Linked DNA regions of Homo sapiens: all the other regions are linked to region 3. The links are contacts of gene promoters, found by promoter capture Hi-C in blood cells and fetal thymus (Javierre and others, 2016). All regions are on one chromosome and are shown on one strand. Each heading gives the region's core, a stretch centred on a gene start or on the middle of the fragment in contact. The rest is flanking DNA. Distances are from core to core; before and after follow the strand shown.

Region 1 (4,874 bases), core at 1,105-3,604, 1.5 Mb after region 3:
AACAGTAACAGGATACAGGATGACAGTTCCTCACAGACTACAGTAAATGTGATTAAATTATCTCATCAGCTTCATACTCCTGAGTATTTGTACAATGCCAGAAAACCATCCATTAATCTGACCTGTCTGCTAGACCCCCAGACAGCATGGGCTAGAGGTATTAATATTCAAAGAAATTTCCCTCTCAAATGGCCAATTGGAGGGATTCCAAGTTTAGTCTCTGCAGCCGTTGACACCACGAATGAGACACGGAGAAATAATAAGGGGGAAAGAATAAAAGCTAGAATAAAATTCAGAAATTTGCTTGAACTCAGCCACAGATTCTTTTTCATTCCTTTCCACTGACCTGATCTAATTCCAGCAGCTATTATCCCTGTGAAACACTGCCACAGCTGAATTTATTTTTATTTTGTCTGCTCAAAGGCAATGCAAAGCGAATTTGAGAGCACATCACCTTCAGGGAAAAGACTGCCGCATATTACTCACTACCTCCCTCCACCCCTCTGCGTGAAAAGGTTAATTTGAATAAGGCTGCTGCTTCCACAAATAGAGCAGTAACCAGCACACAGAGGAACCGCCAATGAGACTGTATTTCAATGATGTCATACTTATACCTGCCTCTTATTATTTGCTGAGTAGTGACAATGTGTTCCGTGAATCTCACGTATTATTGGTTAAGAGCCCTGTCATTCTGAGTACTTCTGGAGAGTTTTAGGCATTGCAGTTTCTTTACAAGCCCAGAATTTTTTCAGCTTCTGCACTTCAACAAACTGTTGGAGAAGGCAGAGTATTTTAAACGTTGTTGTCCTGAAGACAAATATAAAAACCTTTATAATTTATACCTGATTTACATGCCATTGGATGCTAGCTCCGTTTGCACAGCAAACGCAACATAGGAAAAGTCTGTTTTTTGTTAAAATAAATGAACAAACAAACAGTTGGACAGAACTTTCACTGAAGTGTTTCTAGAAAGAGTATGCTTAGCTGAATATTGTCCCACTGGCCTAACTGAAAACAAACTTATTCCACTTATTCTACAACAACAATTTTTTGCCCCAGTGAGCAGAGCTTTCTTAAAAAGAACTAGATCTAAAATTTACCAGTTTGTAGGATACAGGGCATTGGAGGAGGGAAAACCTACCTGGTTTATTTTTGTCCTAAGTGGGTTTTATTTTTAAATCAGTTAGGGTTTTGTGCCATTAAATGTGTGCTTCAGGTCACTCAGATTCCTGGGCTTTTCTGAGGAAATGCCTATAAATAGGTTTGAAAACTACACTACCTTATAATGAAGCTGACAGTTAGATAAATCAGTTGTGCATGAGTTAGGAATTATTCAACTAACTGAAACATTCAAATAAATGTTCTGGTCAGCATGAGATGCAAGTGTGATTGGGAGGCCAGGAAGAAGTGTTGGTAGTGATCTTAAGCTGAGGCTCAAAAGTCTCATCATCTGTGGTGGCAAGTGAGGCCCCAAGCATGGCTCTCTGGGCAAAGTCACATCCTCAGAGATATAGACAACAAGGTCAGTCTGTTCATTGTCAGTTGGCGAAGCAGAACATATATGGCGAAGGTTAATCCAGTCCACAGGCAGGGCTGTATATTAAATGCTCCAGTGAGAAGGGCAGGGCATTAAAGGAGCAACTGGATTTTAACCGGCAGAAAAAGACTAGAAAGTGTTCATGTGTAGGAGAATGAGATGAGAAAGGATGACTATATATGGAATAGACCTCCCTGACTGGATATACATATATGTATCTACACCTTAGTGAGAGAAATCTGGAAAAGCAGGCACACAAATCAGCAAAGATGATGTAAATTAGGAAGAGGTAGAAAGCACCAGATATTTTGGGCACCCATACCTCAAATTCAGTAGCTAATATCAACTATTTTTGAAATCAAAATGTCTTCTCAGCTGTGTATCAGAACTTATTGTTTGCAGAGTCTGATCACAGGTTAGCTAGATGTTGTAAAATTTGATTATTTTATAGTTTAAATAAATGCTTTACAATATTATTGTAGACATTGGACATTCAACGAGATGCTCACTGTGTTAAGAGCATGGGAAATGAGACCAAAGTTAAGTTTAATTGCAGTAAAAAGTAGAGAATAGACTACCATTCTATTAAAGTTAGAAGGACCTAGAGCTGTATCCACTGTACTTGAACTTCCTGGTATTTCTACCAACAAAGTGCATGTGAATTTTGATTCAAGAGCTCTCTCTCTAGTAACAGCATGGTGTTGAGTACAAGGGCCTTTGGTGTCAGACAGACCTGAGTTCAAATCCCAACTCCAACCATTAGTAGCTTTGCAACCTTGATCATTATAATTAATCTATCTAAACTTCAGTTCTCTTGAAGGATAATGATGATACCCAGGTATGGGGTGGGAAGATTGTGAGAATGAGACTGAATAAAGTATATATGTTTTATTAGCATAGTGCCTATCTCAGTAAATGAAAGGGTTTCTTTTTCTTTTTTTTTTTTTGTATGTTTGTGGTTTTAACTTTGTTATGTCCATAAGGTCCTTCCAGAATCTACATGACCTGTCTCCTTACTGATCATTTCTTGTCACTCCTTTTCTCCTATACTCTATCCAGGCCATACTAACCTTCTTGCAACTTCCCAAATAAGCCTAGTATGTTTTGGCTGGAGGACTTTACTTTGCAGCTCCCCTTGCCTGGAATGCTTCCCCTCCCAAGTGTACCTTCGTCACTTTCTTCAGGTCTCAGTTCAAATATTAACAAGAGAAATCTGACTTAACACCCTGGCTGAAATGGCTTCCCTATGACTCTCTTTCCCATAACACCATGTTATGCTTTTCCATTGCCACTAGACATGATTTTATGTTGTATTTTTAATTTGTTTATTATCTGTTTTGCTCTCTTGAGCATGTCAGGTCCACATGAGTAGCATCTTTGTTTGCTTCTGAGCCCAGAGCCTAGAAAAGTGCTTGGACATAGCAGATTCCTAAAAATCATTGTTAATGAGCATTGATGAAGACAGCAATAGGAACTCTTAAGTTCTTTAGGACAGGGGTACAACAGGCACATAGGTGCAATGGCCAGAAAGGGGCTCTGAACACCCCTGCCTCATACCAAAGCTGAGAATGTATATGAGCTTTTCTTATTGAGCCAAGCAGAAATATTTCAATTTACCCATCACATTATACGAATGAGATGTTAAGACAATGAGAATACACAGTTTTAGTATTCTTTACCCAAAGGGTGCCAGTGCTCTTTAGGGTAGATGAGGTGTGGGAAGCTGGGCCAGAAGAGATTCCAGGGAAAATCCTGGGTGAAGATTTTTAGCTGGTGTACCCTTTCTGAGGTCTACTATTTTTTCCCCCTTCAAACTCCCTCAAAACCTGTTCATATTGGCTGTGATCCTCACGAATTTTTGGGTACAATCGAGGGACTGAAAAAATGAGAATTGGAGATCAGATTAGTAAATGCAGGATATAATAGTAAATTCAAGAATCCCAGACATTCTCAACATTACACACACCTACACACATATTAATATGCATATGTATGAAATGAACTGACGGAAGTGTCACAGAATATTTTAAGATCTTTCTGTTCTCTTTCTCAGTCCATCATAATGATAAAATAGATTCTCTTCTGGATTTCTATTTCCCAGTAACTGAAGGACTATATAAGATGGCATCCAGCTTACGTAAGCATTATCCCTGCTGACATTCCAAACGAGCAGTTCAAATGCCACCTAATCATCCAGTTATAGCTTGGATTTTGGCAGTCTTTTATAAAACACTGCATTTGAAGGAGCATCTGCCTTTTGTATATTGGCCATGTCAGCACCTGTGGCTGCTTCTTTTTCTAGAAACTTCTGAACATGGTAAACGTAATATGAAATAAAATTAGTGCTAACCACCAGAATGCTCTTAAAAGTGTATAGAGTCATGATTGAAATTCTGAATGTACAGCCCATTTTTAAAGAAAATTGGCTATCTCCTCTCACCTCTTACTCCTCCACTACCCTCAATGTTAGTTGTCTTAGATTAGTGCTTCTTAAACTTTAAAGTATCTACAATCACTAAGCCGTCAAAGGGACCTTATTAAAATAATACATATTTTTCCAGAATGCCGGGAGTAGGGCATGAGATTTGGCATTGCCAAAAACTTCTAGGTGAAGCCATGTGCTGGTCTGTGAACCACACTTTGAGTAAGTAGCAGGAGTTTATTTTTATTTTTATTTGTATGACTTTATTGGGTACAAGGCAATTTTGTTACATGCACCGATTGTGTAGTAGGGAAGTCAGGGCTTTTAGGCACCCATCATCCAAATCATGTACATCGGACCCATTAAGTGAAGCACTGGTTTAGATGACATAATGTCACATGTTTGGTTTTCTAATCCCCCAAATTAATAAGAGAATTTTTAAGGAGGTCATTTACTATTTTTTTTTAGGCCAGGCTGGAGTGCGGTGGTGCGATCTCGGCTCACTGCAACCTCTGCCCCCTGGGTTCAAGTGATACTCCTGTCTCAGTCTCCTGAGTAGCTGGGATTACAGGCACGCGCCACCATGCCTGGCTAATTTTTGTATTTTTAATAGAGATGGGGTTTCACCATGTTGACCACCATGGTCTTGATCTGCTGACCTTGTGATCCACCCGCCTCGGCCTCCCAAAGTGATGAGATTACAGGCGTGAACCACTGTGCCTGGCCTCTTCCACATGCATTCTCTTGTAACTGTGTTAAGAGATTTTGTTCTGAGGTATATTCACATCCAATTGGTAACCAAGCCATTTTGAGTCTAAGAAATATTTCTCTCTTCTCCATCCCCACAGGCGCTGCCTCAGCTGAGGCCTTCCTCATTTTTCCCCTGCAAAGCAGTAATAACCTCCGATTTATCTC
Region 2 (5,035 bases), core at 1,582-4,081, 1.4 Mb after region 3:
GGACTCATTAGCACAACAATTTTTTTCAATAAACAGTAATAAAAAGCATTCCACAATAAAGTTCAGCTGACTGCATTGCTAAGTAGTAGATAAATAACTGAAGGTTTTCAAAAATAAACAGAAACCCTCAAGAATGTTTTGTTTAACCTGACATAGCCATGTTGGTTACATGGTCTTAGTTCAAAATTATGAAAATTTTATGTGAAAACATTTCAAATTTCAAATTTTCCCAGTACATTTCATAATAGTTATTAAATTGGCAGAATAATAAACTGCTTTCCTAATTTTTATATGCTCAAATTGCTCTTTCCCCAACTCAAAGGAGCTTAATATATTCAATCTAGTATCAAGACCCGTCTGCAACAATAAAGATATAACTTACCCAACTGAAACGTCTGTCCTTCAACATCCTATTTCCACTATGCTTCTACAGTTTGAAATTTTCTAACCTAAAAGTATACTCCTTTATCGGAACCAATTTCTATGTGGTCTTAAAAAATGCACACAACATGTGAATGAGGTCTGAGAATAGCACAAGCAAGCTTTTTTCCTTGAGGGAGGGGGGGTCCACTGTTTTAAATAAATGTCAGTTCTAAAAGCGTTTCTTAGAAGACGGTATACACCCACTCCTCAAAGTGACCACTCCTATTCCCATCACAAGCTGCTTCTTGCTAAAAGCCACCAAATTTATTTCAAAGCATTTACTTATCTAAACAACTCTATCGTCCAGTAAGAAAAGGGCATGGAGGCGTCTAGGTGGTTTTGCAGAATGACGTGTATTTGATTGGCAGATGTCTACCGAAGTCACTAGATGCACACGCACTAAATGTAAATAGAGTTGCTCGTCTCTCCGATGTTACAGGGAAACAGAGAATCTTAACGCTGGTGTAAAATAAAATATCAGAGTGCTCGCCGAGAATTCCATTAGCCAGTGGAATTATCTAAAACAATCCATACAGAACGACACTTTAGCCATCTATACAGTTAAATTAGAGTGCTGACAATACTAACTACGCAAACTGTTTATCCAGATTACACATTCCGTTGTATTAATACTCTTTAACTCAACACAGTCAGCTTTTATCAGCTGAAATAAGACTATTACTATTAAAGTATGCAAAACTCGAAGCGCAGGGTGAAGGGGGTTGGGAAGCTGCAGGGCATATAACAAAGGAATTGGTACTTTTTCCAAGCATTTGCCTCAAATGCACTGCGAAACAAAACTGTTGAGTGCACCCCACCCTTTTCCCCAAAGATAAAAGTTTTCAAAGTTCTTGCAGACAGCTCGCTACCCAACAAAAGCAGGACTGATTCTCCCCGTAGGGGAGCATCTAACGTGAACACCAACTAATGTCGCGGAGGTCAAGTCTGAACCCTCAGAGTGAGCTTCTGAGGCAAGAAGTGGCTCCCAGGCCGGCTCTGCGGGTTCCCGGCCCGGGTGGACGTACAAAGTTGCCCCTTGTCAACTCCGGCCAGGTCCCCCGTAATTGAAAATAACAGCCACCGGCCAGCCCCTGGCTACTTGCATGGACCAGGCACTGTAGCAAGTGACAGTTACACATCATTACGACCAGAGACAATAATGAATGTAGCACCAGGAGCACTATTCATGCCAGCAGTGTCATCTCCGCCTTAACCCCTTCCCCTCCACTCTCTCCAGCGCGCACACACAGCCCACACGGTCCCGGTGCGGAGCTATTCATCCACCCCGCTCGAGGCCGGGGGGCCAACTACTTCCACGAGCCCCCCCTCCCCCCCAAGTTCAGCCCTGGGGTTTTATTTCACATCCTTGGCAACTGTCAGGCAAACACTGCAACCAACAATTCCACTAGGGGTAGAAAAACACTTGCTTAATTCACGTTACTTGATAACTTCTTCTGGAAAAAAAAAATTAGGGGAGGTGGGGAAGAAACCTCCTTCTTTCTTCTCCACGAATCCGACCGACGCTACTTGCTTTGCAACAGCATCGCCCTTCCCCGGCCCCCTCCCGCTTCCCAGCACTTTCCCCCTTTAAGAACACAGACCAACCAAAATGATTTAACTTGAGCAGATGACAGAAGGAAAATAAAACACGTTAAGAGAATACGGTCTGATTTGGGATGGCAAAAAAAAAAAAAAAAGAGGAGGGGGTTGTTTATTTTGATAAGAAACGGAATCGGCACAGACCTGAACAGAAGCTGCAGAGCAGGAGAAATTGTTTTCTTTCCCTCACACAGAGTCCCCCTCTCTCTCTCCCTTTCTCTCTCTCACACGCGCGCGCGCACACACACACACACACTCGCACACACACGGCGTCACCCGCGCACACGCACACGCAGAGCCTCTCAGCGGCTCTCTGCAGTTCTCAGGAAATGAATGGGGGGCAACCCGGGGAACTGTTGTACTTGCAAATGACTTACCCGGATCACATGATGCGCTAAATGTAGGGTGGGCCGGTGGGTGGAGGCTGCCGAGTTGCGAGCCCCGGTCTAGTGTGGGGAGCCTCGCCAGGCCCGCATCGAATTACCCCGGGGCCCAGCCGAGGGGGTTGCAGGACGCCGCTTCTCCTCCCTCGCAGCCCGCAGCTCAGGAAACCGGAGAGGCGCTTGGGGTGGGGTGGGGTGGGGTGCTGTGAGGGGGGGGGCCGAAAACAAGAAACCCCCAAACAAAAGAGCTCCGGGTCCTCCTCCCCAGAAACAAAGCCCCGCCGCTGCCGGCGAGCCCCGGGGTGGGGCCGAGGGCGGGGGCGGCGGCGGGGAGGGGCTCGCTCAGCAGGCGCTAAGTCGCTTTATTGCCATAAAATGGGGCCCCCGAGCCGCTCCGCCCGAGGATTAGGAGGCGGGCTCTGAGTGTGATGGTTGAAATCCCCTGTGGGAAACTAACCCCTCCCCGCTCGCAGAGGTAGAAGGCAACACCCACTGCCCGGCCCTCGCCTCCCCGCCCGGACCGCCGGGCTGGGTCCGCGGCGCCTCCACCCCGCCCCACCCCGCCCCACCCCTGCCCCCGCCCTCCGGCCCCGGGCCTCGGCAGCGCTTCCCTTTCACCTGCACCACTTTGCTGCGGCACCCCAAATAACCCACACATGGCCCTGGGAGCTCGGGGAGTCGTCGGCCGAGGGGGCCCGCGGGGGCTTGCGGCGGGAGGGACCCCTGGAGAGCAACTCGCTGGGCAAGGACTCGCGCCGAGCCGCGAGAAAGTCTCCTCTTTTGTGTCAGAGCGCGCCAGACAGGCTTAGGAGAATTCGGGGACCCAAAAAGCGTGCAGCCCGCTTGGGCCCCCACCCCTCGCCGCACCCGCCCGGGTGGGGGCGCGCAGTGGAGGGAGGGGGCTGTCGCCCGGGTCGTCCCCGCGGCTCGCCCGCCAGCGAACTTGGAAAGGTGTGGGCGGAGCCGGCCGGGACTGTGGGGCAGCTCGCGGGGACCGCCCCTGGGCGCCGGGCATCGCCCGCGCCGGGCAACAATGGGGTCAGGCAGGGGCAGCCCCGCGGGCGGTGCCCCCCGCGCGCCGGTGGGGCGGGCGGAGGGCCGGGCGCGGCAGGCAGGGGAGTCATTGTTTGGGTTCCGGAGCGACGCACGTTGCGGGCGAAGCGGGGGCGCCCCTTTTCCCTGCGCTTCACCTTGGCGGGATGAATGGGGGCGAGGCGGAGATGCGCGCCTGGCCTCGCCACCCCAGCGAAGGGGCCCCTGCCTGCGCCAGTTCTGTGGGAAAGCACGCAAACTTGGAGGACTGGGGCAGAGGAAGCGGGATCTGCAGACCCCCGCGGGGCCCGGGGGCGGCGGGGAAGGGAGTCCAGCTCCACTGCCCCACGCCCAGAGCGGAGCCCCAAGAAGCGGACGGCCCGGAGCCGAGTCCTTGACGCTCTCCCCGGCAGCCCCTCCCTCCCCGCCTCCGCGCCCCGGGGAGCGGATCCGCGGGATTGTGGGGCGGGAGAGGGAGGAGGCGGCCGGGCGGCCCTGCAGTTCCCGCGGCGGCTCGGAGGGCGCGGGGTCAGCGCCGAGCCGGAGGGTCGGCGGGGGCGGGGAGCAGACGGGGCGGAAGCGGCCGGGCGGGCGGGGCGCGCGGCGGACGGAGGCGGGAGGCTGTGGGCCCGCCTCCTCACCATCCTAGGTGAGCGCGGCGCTCCGGGCACGACAGTATTCCCCTGCCCCGCGCCCCCGGCCCGGCCCGCCCCGCGTGGGAAATCGCCAGGGCTGTGGGAAGGCCGGGAAGGGGAAGTTTGTGTGCAGAGAGAAAGCTTTGCTGTACTGTGGCGTGGAGTGGGGTGGGAAGAGAAACAAGGGAGAGGCCGAGAAACAGGAAATGAGAACGAAGGCACGAATGTGAGCCAGGGCCAGCTGGGCTCCCCATCGGTGTGGCGGTTTCCAGCCACTTCAGGCGCGGTGTGCGTTCCTAATGACAACAAAGGCGGCGTCTGCCTGGTGCGTTCTCTGCCTCTTGCCACTCCTAGGTTCTGGGGAAAATGGGATGGGTGGTCCAACCTAGAGGAGGGGTCCCACAGCCTAAGATGCGTCTTAGGAAGGCAGCAGGATTCAGAGGAGGGGTCTGTCCTGGTCTTGAGGTTTCGAAGAGGAAGAAATGTCTGAAATTTGTGGAGCACTGCTCGAGTGAAGTAGCCTCAGCGGCGGGAGCGGGAAGGCGCGGGCGCAGCGAGGGCGTCGGGAACCCAGTGGGACTCGGGGGTGAGGGGTTGGTGGTTGCTGCGGTGCGGTCTCTGTTCCGGGGAATGCAGCCGCAACTCCCACTCCCTGATCCGATCCTGGGCCTAGGGTAAACAGCCCCTTACACTCCACTACACCCGGATGGAAACGACGTGAAAACACAAGTTTGAAAAGCAGCAGAATATCAACAACTGCGCAGGATTTCAACGAGAAACTTGCCTCTACTAGAATCACTGTGAAGTTTCCCTCTAGGTGGGGCAGGGAGTGAAGGAAGGGAGTTTCACTGTAAGGGTGGAAGGATGCTGTAAGAAATTATGTCATCGTGGCAGTTCTTGTACTAACAGCTCTTTCTCGAGTGAGCTGAGTGGCGGATAGACCATAAATATATTCTATAGCGA
Region 3 (4,678 bases), core at 1,184-3,683:
TTGGTTTTAAACTTGGGTCTTTCTGCACTGAAAAACAAGTGATGTTGCTATTTCTGGATTTCAAGGAGGTACTAACAATAAGAAGCCTACAAGGGCTTTACTGGTATTCTTTACAAGAACATTGAAGTTTGAGATATAAGAATCAAGAAAGTTGAGATATTAAGGTTTTTAAAAATGTGCATAATCTGATGGAATTTCATTACCAGAAGTCTACACTCTAATCCAATGGTTCTCAATTGAGTGAATTCACCCCTCAGGGCATTTTGTATCATTACAACTGAGTGGTGGTGGTGGTGGTGGTGGTGGGGGGGGTAAGGGGTGGTGATCCTGCCAAATAGGCTAGGAACACTGTTAAACATACTACAATGTATAAAACAGCCTTTCCACCACAAAAAAATTATTCAGTTCAAAATATCTATAATGCCAAGATTGAGAAGCCCTGATCTAATCCAATAAAAGTACCATACTCATCATAGATTATTTATGTAATATAACGTAATAGGCAATATCATATTTTTGAGACCACACACTGAGTTCAAAGGTCTTGAATCTAAAAGCACAACAAAGAATTATATTCCTGGCCAGGCACGGTAGCTCATGCCTGTAATCCCACCACTTTGAGAGGCTGAGGCAGGTGGATCACGAGGTCAGGAATTCGAGACCAGCCTGACCAACATGGTGAAACCCTGTCTCTACTAAAAATACAAAAATTAGCCTGGCATAGTGGTGCGTGACTGTAATCCCAGCTACTCAGGAGGCTGAGGCAGAAGAATCGCTTGAACTTGGGAGGTGGAGGTTGCAGTGAGCAGAGATCACACCACTGCACTCCAGCCTGGGTGACAGAGTGAGACTCCATCTCAAAAAAAAAAAAAAAAAAAAAAAAAGAATTCTATTCCTTAACCTAATCTTGCTCAATGTAATCAGCTGCAAAGTATTAAACTTTTAAAAAGACCATTAAGAATAAATCTACTTTCTATTTTTAAACAAAATAGAAACTTCACAAACTCATATATTTTATTACCCTCTGTTAGTTGTTCACATAATATGGTATTCCAGGAACTTAAGCAAATCTCATCTTCCAAGATTCTATGGTCCAACTCATGCTAAAACCAATTCAAAATGAAAACATTTTGGAAATTAAAGTACCTATTGTAGTCTAGGAGTCAGCAGACCTTGGTTTTAGGCTTGAGCCCATCAATGCCTGTGTGACCTTAGAGAGATCCACTTAGCATTATCTTCTGCACAGCCATGTAAGAATTAAATAAGGTATGAAATCTATCACTTATCTTCTGACAATGTCATAAATTACTCACAGGAACCCTCTCCCGAATTTTGCTAATCCTGTGGTTTTCTGATATTTAACGTAATATTCCTCCTACCTATGGTGCTCATTAGTGAAAGTATAGAAATGCTTCTCTTGGTTATTAGTCACATCTCGGATGCGTTTATATACGGGGGCACTGCGATTTCTCACTTCTTGAAGAACTGTTTGTAGCACAATTACATTCCTGATGGCAGGGTCCTCAAGAACATCAATCTTAAAGAAAGATAAAGTTAATTTTTCCTATATTCATTTGTAAATAGCTCTGTCAAACATAAAATCCTGTTTTATGTTGGGCATAAATACTTTATGTTTTAAAAACACTGAATAAGTTAAGCCAAGAAGCTATTTGGCTATAGAAAACGAGACAATAGTCACTAAACCCTTCAGATCTATTAAAAAAAGCACACTTAAACAGACCAATCACAAGACTTCGTAGAATTAAGGGTATTAATAAAGGAATACGTTGGCCCACATAGTTTTTTGTTCCTAGGCACTTACAAGCTGCCTGGGAGTCGCAGGCTGGAGGCCACAGAAGCCCAGGTCCCCGGCCTCCAGGCACTTACAATCTAAGGCAGAAGAGACACCAGGAGTTAGAAAAATAACGTGTCTGAACTACGACTCCAAGAACTAAATTTTTTAAAGCACAAGGAAAAGAACCTCGGCCTGGGGAACAGGAAGCTTCGGTCCCGAGGGGGTTTCCCTTTCGCTAGGTATGTGACACTGCCAAAGACCCGCCTCCCTGGGCCTCAGTTTCCCTGTCATACCCCCTTGTCCCCGTGGGGCCGCGCTGTCCGCGGTTCGCCCGCCCACGCACCTGGTGCAGTAACACATTAGTGTCGGGCAGCAAGTAGTGCGGTTGCGGGCAGACGCTGCTCGCCGGGTCCTGGGGCTGCGGCTCCAGGGCCGGCCCCTCGTGCGCCCCTCCACACGCTGCGCACCCGGGCGCACCGCAGCCGATGTCGTCTCGCAGGTAGTGCTCGCGCACGATCTTCATCACGCCGCCCGCCCGGGTCTTTTTTAAGAACGTCTTGGACTTGAGCATCTTGCCTCGCCGCGCAGAATCCTAACCCCAGCAGCGCTCTTCCAGCAAAAGGCGTCAATCTAGAATACGCCTAACCCCGGAGGTTCTTCCCTTTCCATTCCCGGATATTAGTAACACTTCTCGCGGGAAAATGCCGAGATAAACATTGGTTGGCTCTCTGACGGCCGCGGGGATTGGGCGAGAGTGGGGAGGGGCGGCAAAGCAAGGCGAGGAGCCATTTCCGCCCGTGGCCTAGGCGGGGCTTCCTTCTGGACGCCACCTCACAACGTGTGTTGCTTTCCGCTCCTCGGAACATCCGGGAGAGTTGACTTCCGGCGGCTTGTGGGAGTGCTGGTTCTGTCCTCCTTGCGGGTGCGGAGATGGTTGTCTTGGTTACGGGTCCTAACGGTCCCCTGCCTTGAAATCCCTTGTTGAGGGCCTGCAACCTTGTGCTTCCGACCGGAGACGCCTTTGGTCCCTCGGTGTCTGCACTGGCTGCTGGTCAAGGCTTCAGTGTGGAGTAATTGACACTTTCGAGGTAACTTGCGACTATCATCGCTTTCTTTCCCGCGTGGGGCAAGGAATCCCCCGAGCTGCCAAGTTTGGGGCTTAATTTTCACGCCGAGTGTATAGGCAGTCCCCGTCTCGGGCCCTTTGTAATCGAGGAGAGAATTTGTCTTTGAATTCACTTTTTCTTACCTATTTCCCTTCAAAAAGAAGGAGGGAGGCCGATCTTAGTATAGTTCTCGCTGTTTCCCCTCCACACACCTTTCCTTATCATTCAGTTTAGAAAAACTGAAATATTTAATAGCATAATTTGTTATATCATGAGGTATTAAAACAAGGTAGTTGCTAACATTCTTATGAGAGAGTTAGAAGTAAGTTCTATTTAGAATTTCTTGAATTTTTCTTATATCCTGTTGTTTTCATTCTGCTATCTATAAAAAATGTTTTTGTCCCCGTTTTCCCTATTTAAAACATCTTCAATGATGCCTCATTGCCTGTAGAATAAAATCCAACCCTATTTTGACATTTAAGGCCTTCCAGTCTTGATCGTTAAGGGCGTGTGTGTGTGTGTGTGTGTGTGTGTGTGTGTTTGTGTTTGTGTTGGGGGGGCGGTGAAAGGAGTAACTATTCCAAGACTTGGCTTTGTTTTTTTACTTCCACTTACGTATCATTAATAACTGCATGATTTCTCCTTTTTACCATGCCTGTCCAAATCTTTAAAGATTCTAAGTGCTACCTCTGTGTAACGTTTCCCTGACCAACTCAGACGTGATTTCTGTTATCTTTGAGCATGTGTTGGTTTTAGTGGTGCCATTCTTGATTATAATGGGCTTTTTTCTTCATCTTGTACATTTCTTTGTTTCCTCCAAGTAAGATTCCTCCCCGCAGGAACTGTTTTTTTAAGTTTCTCGAAGGCTGACTTCATATTAGGAATTAATGTGTTTGATTTGAGCATTAACTTAACTGCAATAATCTGTTCTAGATTTGGGATGCACTAAATTGCCTAATATTTATTTAAGGAATCCTTAGTCTCTCTTTAATACAGTCCATGATTTCTGTAGTTAATTTTATAGTACATTTGAATTAATGTTTTTTAACCTACAGAATATTAAAATCAAATTAGAGAAGAAAACTGATCCATAATAATAAAAATGTCTCGAAAAATTTCAAAGGAGTCAAAAAAAGTGAACATCTCTAGTTCTCTGGAATCTGAAGATATTAGTTTAGAAACAACAGTTCCTACGGATGATATTTCCTCATCAGAAGAGCGAGAGGGCAAAGTCAGAATCACCAGGCAGCTAATTGAACGAAAAGAACTACTTCATAATATTCAGTTACTAAAAATTGAGCTATCCCAGAAAACTATGATGATCGACAATTTGAAAGTGGATTATCTTACAAAGGTAAGATCAGGTTTAAATTTTGTGTTCTATATGCTTTATTGTCTTCAAACGGCAGGTAAATAAGAATTAAATACACACATTATCTGAACTTGAAATGATACATTTATATTTCTTGACAAGTACAGCCTTTAAATAATTTTGGTGTTCATAGAAGTAGAGAATAGAATGGTGGTTACCAAGGGCTGGCATGGTTAGGGGTGAAGGAGGGTTGGGGAGATGTTGGTCAAAGGATACATAATTACAGTTGAATAGGAGGAATACATTCAAGAGATCTATTGGACAGCATGGTGGCTATAGTTAATGACATTGTAATCTTGGAAAACATTGTGTTTTTGAAAAACACAGCAGATGTTAAGTGTTCTCATTACTAAAATAACTATGTGAGGTAAAACATTTTTTAATTAGCTAGAGTTAACCATTTCA
Region 4 (5,078 bases), core at 1,304-3,803, 1.0 Mb after region 3:
TATAATAAAAAGAGCGATAACAGGAAGCTGCAGCAACTACCATCTCTTGAGGTTTTATTACATTACAGGCATTGTGCTAAGTTCTTGCATTCACCATCTCAAGGATCTCATTTATAGGAATTTTAAACACATCAGCAGAGATGGTCAGATGTGTGTGCGGTCTGCCCCCAAATAAGATAATCTGATAGAACAAATTGACACAGTTATAGGCTCCAAGTTTGTAAAAATATTAGTAGGAAACTCTTTTATATGTGATTTTGATATAACTGCAATTTTTAAAAAATTAAAATTCATTAAAATGATCCCCAAACACTTCTATAAGACCTAGACATCTATAGGTACCATTTTAAAAAGCACATTGAGGCTAATTTTCTGACACCAACTCTAATTCTCATTCTGAGAGTTTATAGTTGACAAAGTCCTTTGTTAGGCCACAATAAGAGTTAATAAGCTTGGAGCTATGAATGCATTTCCTGGATTAAGACTCCTTTCCAGTACAACTATTGTCTTCATGACTAGTATTTCTCACATGTAAATTTCTTGATACTTTTTATTGTGCCTCTTATAAATCCTATTATATTAAATCTTCTTTAATAGTTTGATTACTGAAACTCTAAATTCCAAACTCTTATTTAAATTGAAATAACTGATTATTAAAGAACCAACAGATACATGTGAATCTAACTGTGCTAAATCACAACATCCATACTCTCCTACTTAAGGTGAATCTGTCATTTCAGACACAGTCACGGTGCGTCATGATAGTGAAAACACAAACCACATGACCAAATGACAAAGGACAACTGGTGGTCCCAAGAAGTTATATTTACACAGGAGGGCTCAGGTTTTTCAAGTATGTTGATAAATCGCTAACTCATTCCATCACAGATTGAATAGGACCTAAGACATAATTTAGTCCAAACTCCTTGTTTTCTGGTTGCAGGAAAAAAAAATCCACAAAGGTGAGGCAACACTTCCAGGTCCACTACTTGGCAGTGAGGGGGTTATCAGCTCCTCAAGCCACCTTTGAAAATCTGCTTCTTCAACACATACTGGGATAGCCTTTTTAAAAAGGTGACAGGCCGGGTGTGATGGCTCATGCCTGTAATCCCGGCACTTTGGGAGGCCGAGGCAGGCGGATCATCTGAGGTCGGGAGTTCGAGACCAGCCTGGCCAACATGGCGAAACCCTGTCTCTATTAAAAATACAAAAATTAGCCAGGCGTGATGGTATGCGCTTGTAGTCTTAGCTACTCAGGAGGCTGAGGTATGAGAATCGCTTGAACCCAGGAGGCAGAGGTTGCAGTGAGCAAGATTGCGCCACTGCACTCCAGCCTGGGCGACAGAGCAAGACCCTGTCTCAAAAGATACAAATAAAATAATAAGGTTACGAATACATAATTATACATACCTGTGGGTATAGTTTAGTACAGAAAACATTTAACTTTTCTATGTGGAATCCTGACTTTATATATATTACAGTTGAAACACAGTTCAACCCTGCCTGTTATCTGACAATATTCAATATATTTAAAGGATGACTTTGAAAGTAGCCTTAAGTTCCCCTTCTCCTGATGAAGTAATTTCAAAAACTTAACCCTTCCCAGCTGTCAGTGTGTCATTCTGATCTTTTCACCATCTTCAATTACCCTATATTCTTTCTTTAAAGAATATTTTCCAGAGTGCAAAGATCATGAAGGGATGTTTAAATTAACCTGTCCCTATGCAAGGTTCAACTTCTTTGTAAATAGCCCACAAAATAAAGAAGCCATTACATTAACAAATGGATCAGATTGCTTATGTTCTCTGTGCTCTGCACCACATGGGATATCTGACCCTAGTCTTAAAATGAAACAAGGAGTACAGACGCGTCTTTGTGCTCCTGTCTCCTAGATAGAGCCAGGTTATTACTGTTCCACTCTATCTCTTTATGACTGGTTTCAAAATCAACAAAGTCTGGATTTTACAAGCATGAGATTTGCTAAAAAGAAAGTTTTCATGATTTTTTCTGCACAGAATTGGGACGACATATGAGACAATCTTGAATCTTATTTTTCCCCATGATAAAGATGGCTCTGCCTGATCCACGCAGACCTTCCACACTGACTGCTGATTTTTGGCATGTATTGAATGCTCAATAAATGTAAGCTTCTCCCATGAAAGAGAGCAGAAATTACTGTAATGCACAAAAAAATTTAAATTCACTGGAAATTCTCTTTGAATACAAACACCCTAGGTATAATGGACACCAAAGGAAATGCCTCTTGTCATGTTAAGGATGATATTCTCTACCTGTCTCCTCCACAAACCTAGCTTGGTATCTTACATATGGCAAATGTTCAATACACACTGAATAAATGAAATATGAGAATGAAGTATGAGAATTTCCTTCTGGTGTCAGTGATGCCATTTTATAGAACAATGCAAACGCATTCACTGGAAGTTACATGGTAGGAATCTGGATAAATCAGTAATGTTTATCTGCAATTTTGATTTTATGATCCTAGTTTTATGCAATATAAACAATTAACTAAATAATACCTGGGCACTTTACAAGTACAGAAATCTGAAAAGCACTTAAGAAACTCTTGTTTTTCCAAATGATAAGAGACGGAAGGTTAGAGAGCTATAAAATATGGAGACAGGACTGTTACAAAAGAAAAGCTCCTTGTTTTCTACTCGGGACAAACCAAGACTCAACATAAACTTTGGGTTTACAATTTACAAGTATTTATTCATAAATATTTTTAGAATCTAACAGATCAGATGAAGGAAGGAGAACTTTTAAAGTTCATATGGATAAGAAGATAAAGATGATGTACCTAGAATAAATAGTAAACAGAGAGGAGGAGATAAAAATAACTCTGGCATATACTGGGCTTTTAATAAGTATATTTTGAATGGGTCAAACTTCATAAATTGATGCCTACATCAATCTATCCAGATAATTATCAGATAAGCAAGCTTATTTTACAGACATACACAAAAACATGTTGTAATTAGGGAGTCTTCTCAAACGCAATTATTGGAGGAACTGTCTAAAATTTTCTCTTCATTCCAATCGATCTCTAGTGTACAGAAATGACCTTCACTCCTCTGACTGTCATTCTTATTTTTCTCATCTCCCTTACACATTTCTACATTTGCCTCCCCATGAATCTTAGGTTCCTACTCCGTTAGCACTGACAATTCCTTCCTATTAACCTGCTATATATCCTGGCTTGTTTGTCCTTTTCATAACTAAACTAGATCTGTACTATCTCTAGTTCACTTTTTTTCCCTCAACTAACTAAACAGGCTTCTCACATTTTATTCTTCTGGAACCTCAGAAAGATGGAACCCATTTTCGTGGTGCTTCTCTAAGCTTTCTCCCTCTCTCCCTGTCTGTCTCTTTCTCCCTGCCCCTGTGCTGTGTGTGTGTGTGTGTGTGTGTGTGTGTGTGTGTGTGTGTTATTAAATCTTCTTCCTTCATCTGTCTCCTTACTGCAGGCCTTCCTCCCAAACTGGGTCCTTGATATCTGTTCCTGTGAATTGAACAAATCTTATAGAAAACTCTTTGGTAGTTTATTCTAAAGATAAACACGCATCTACCTTTGAGCTAGCAATCCCCTTCTTCAGTATTTACCTAAGAGAAATAAAAACATATGTCCACAGAAAAGTTGCACACACAGACCTTCATCTAGCCTTATAATAGTCTCAAACTAAAAACAATCCAAATGTCCATCAAGAAGTGAATAGGTAAATTATGTTATACCCACACAATGGAATACTATTTAGCAATGCAACAACATGCAAGAATCTCAAAAACATTATGCAATGAAAGAAGGCTGAAAAAAAAGAACACGATTCCATACATGAAGATCTAGAACTAACTGGTGGTAAAAGGCATCAGAAAGTGGCTGTCTAGGGGTTTGGAGGAAGCAGTGCATTTATTGGACAGGGACACAAGGCCTTTCTGGGTGATGGAAATGTTCAGATCTTACATGAGAGTATACAATTGTTAAATTCTTTGAACTGCACCTTTAAAATAAGTGTTTTATTGTATGTAAAAAATACCTCAAAAAATAAAAATAAAATAACCTCAGGGATCGTCCTTCTGCCACTGACTTCCTGTCTATATTTCCCATCCTTCCTGATCAGTTCCAGTTCTAGATCTCCAAATACCAACAGAAGAGCTCCACTTGGATGTTTCATTATTGTATCAAACTCCTTCACTCACCTCTCTTAGCTACATTATTCAGTTCAAAGGCATAGCCATTCCTTCTTTCTTCATCTTATTCTTTAGAGTTTAGTTATCACCAAAACTATCAATTCTTCCTTTAAATACAAATCATAAATCTTTTCCCTTCAAGACAGAATGCAGTAAAGAGCAATCTTAACATGTAGGGGAGGCCGGGTGCAGTGGCTCACGCCTATAATCCCAGCATTTTGGGAGGCTGAGACAGGAGAATCACTTGAGGCCACGATTTCGAGACCAGCCTGGACAACACAGCAAAACCCCATTTCTACAAAAATTTAAAAAATTGCCTGGGCATGGTGACATGCACCTGTAATTCTAGCTACTAGTGAGGCTCAGGCAGGATGATCCCTTGAGCCCAGGAGTTTGAGGCTTTAATGAGCTATGATCATGCCACTGCACTCCAGCCTGGGCAAGAGAGCAAGATCCTGTCTCAAAAAAAAAAAAAAAAAAAAAAAAGCATTACATTTTTTAATCCTAAACTTAGAGTTATTGTTATCGTTACTTGCTCAAAACCCGCCACTAGAGGCCTGGTCCAGGCCCAGAGTCAATCACATCTGAACTACTTCAATAACTTCCGACACATTCTTCTTCCTGATTGTTTTTTGGCGTTTAACCAATTTATTACTCATTTTCATGACTAATAATTTACCATATAATCCCTTTAAACCATTATATTGATTTCTAATATGCAGCAAGATGTATGAAACCCCAAATTTGTTTCAAAGCAGAAGCCAACCAGAAAGCGTGGGTAAAAATGTGGGGCTAAAACAACCAATGCTACATCTCTTACCAAAGAAATTATTTTTGAGCTGACAGAAACGAGCAATGGGGAAAAGACA

Evidence for each region. The method cuts DNA at HindIII sites, captures the fragments that hold promoters and counts their contacts. A CHiCAGO score of 5 or more calls a contact.
Region 1: a contact is called between a fragment that was not itself captured here and the fragment with the promoter of DIS3 in region 3, in 2 of 17 cell types (fetal thymus and total B cells). The highest score is 7.1, in fetal thymus.
Region 2: the fragment with the promoter of KLF12 here is called in contact with the fragment with the promoter of DIS3 in region 3 in 1 of 17 cell types (fetal thymus); the score reaches 5.2 in fetal thymus.
Region 4: a contact is called between a fragment that was not itself captured here and the fragment with the promoter of DIS3 in region 3, in 1 of 17 cell types (total B cells). The highest score is 6.9, in total B cells.

Annotation. Positions count from the first base shown.
Region 1 is chr13:74,289,982-74,294,855 of GRCh38, forward strand. All of the region lies in intron 1 of LOC105370259 (a long non-coding RNA gene), which reads left to right. It also overlaps a transcript of KLF12 not described here. Among named protein-coding and RNA genes, the nearest start is that of LINC00402, 61 kb to the left of the region's middle. The HindIII fragment of the contact is 6,826 bases long and covers 1-4,874 here.
Region 2 is chr13:74,131,573-74,136,607 of GRCh38, forward strand. It overlaps KLF12 (KLF transcription factor 12), which reads right to left and starts at 2,832. Exons shown (of 8, transcript NM_001400136.1): 1 at 2,400-2,832. RefSeq lists enhancers at 1,310-1,489, 1,520-1,569 and a silencer at 2,579-4,328. The HindIII fragment of the contact is 3,671 bases long and covers 541-4,211 here.
Region 3 is chr13:72,779,467-72,784,144 of GRCh38, forward strand. DIS3 (DIS3 exosome endoribonuclease and 3''-5'' exoribonuclease) reads right to left here and starts at 2,434. Exons shown (of 21, transcript NM_014953.5): 1 at 2,139-2,434; 2 at 1,380-1,537. The coding sequence starts at 2,366. It overlaps PIBF1 (progesterone immunomodulatory binding factor 1), which reads left to right and starts at 2,667. Exons shown (of 18, transcript NM_006346.4): 1 at 2,667-2,883; 2 at 3,957-4,255. The coding sequence starts at 4,004. RefSeq lists enhancers at 1,626-2,540, 2,458-2,567 and a silencer at 2,128-2,177. The HindIII fragment of the contact is 4,441 bases long and covers 2,001-4,678 here.
Region 4 is chr13:73,793,099-73,798,176 of GRCh38, forward strand. The region is part of intron 5 of KLF12 (KLF transcription factor 12); the gene reads right to left. Among named protein-coding and RNA genes, the nearest start is that of LINC00393, 130 kb to the left of the region's middle. The HindIII fragment of the contact is 816 bases long and covers 2,146-2,961 here.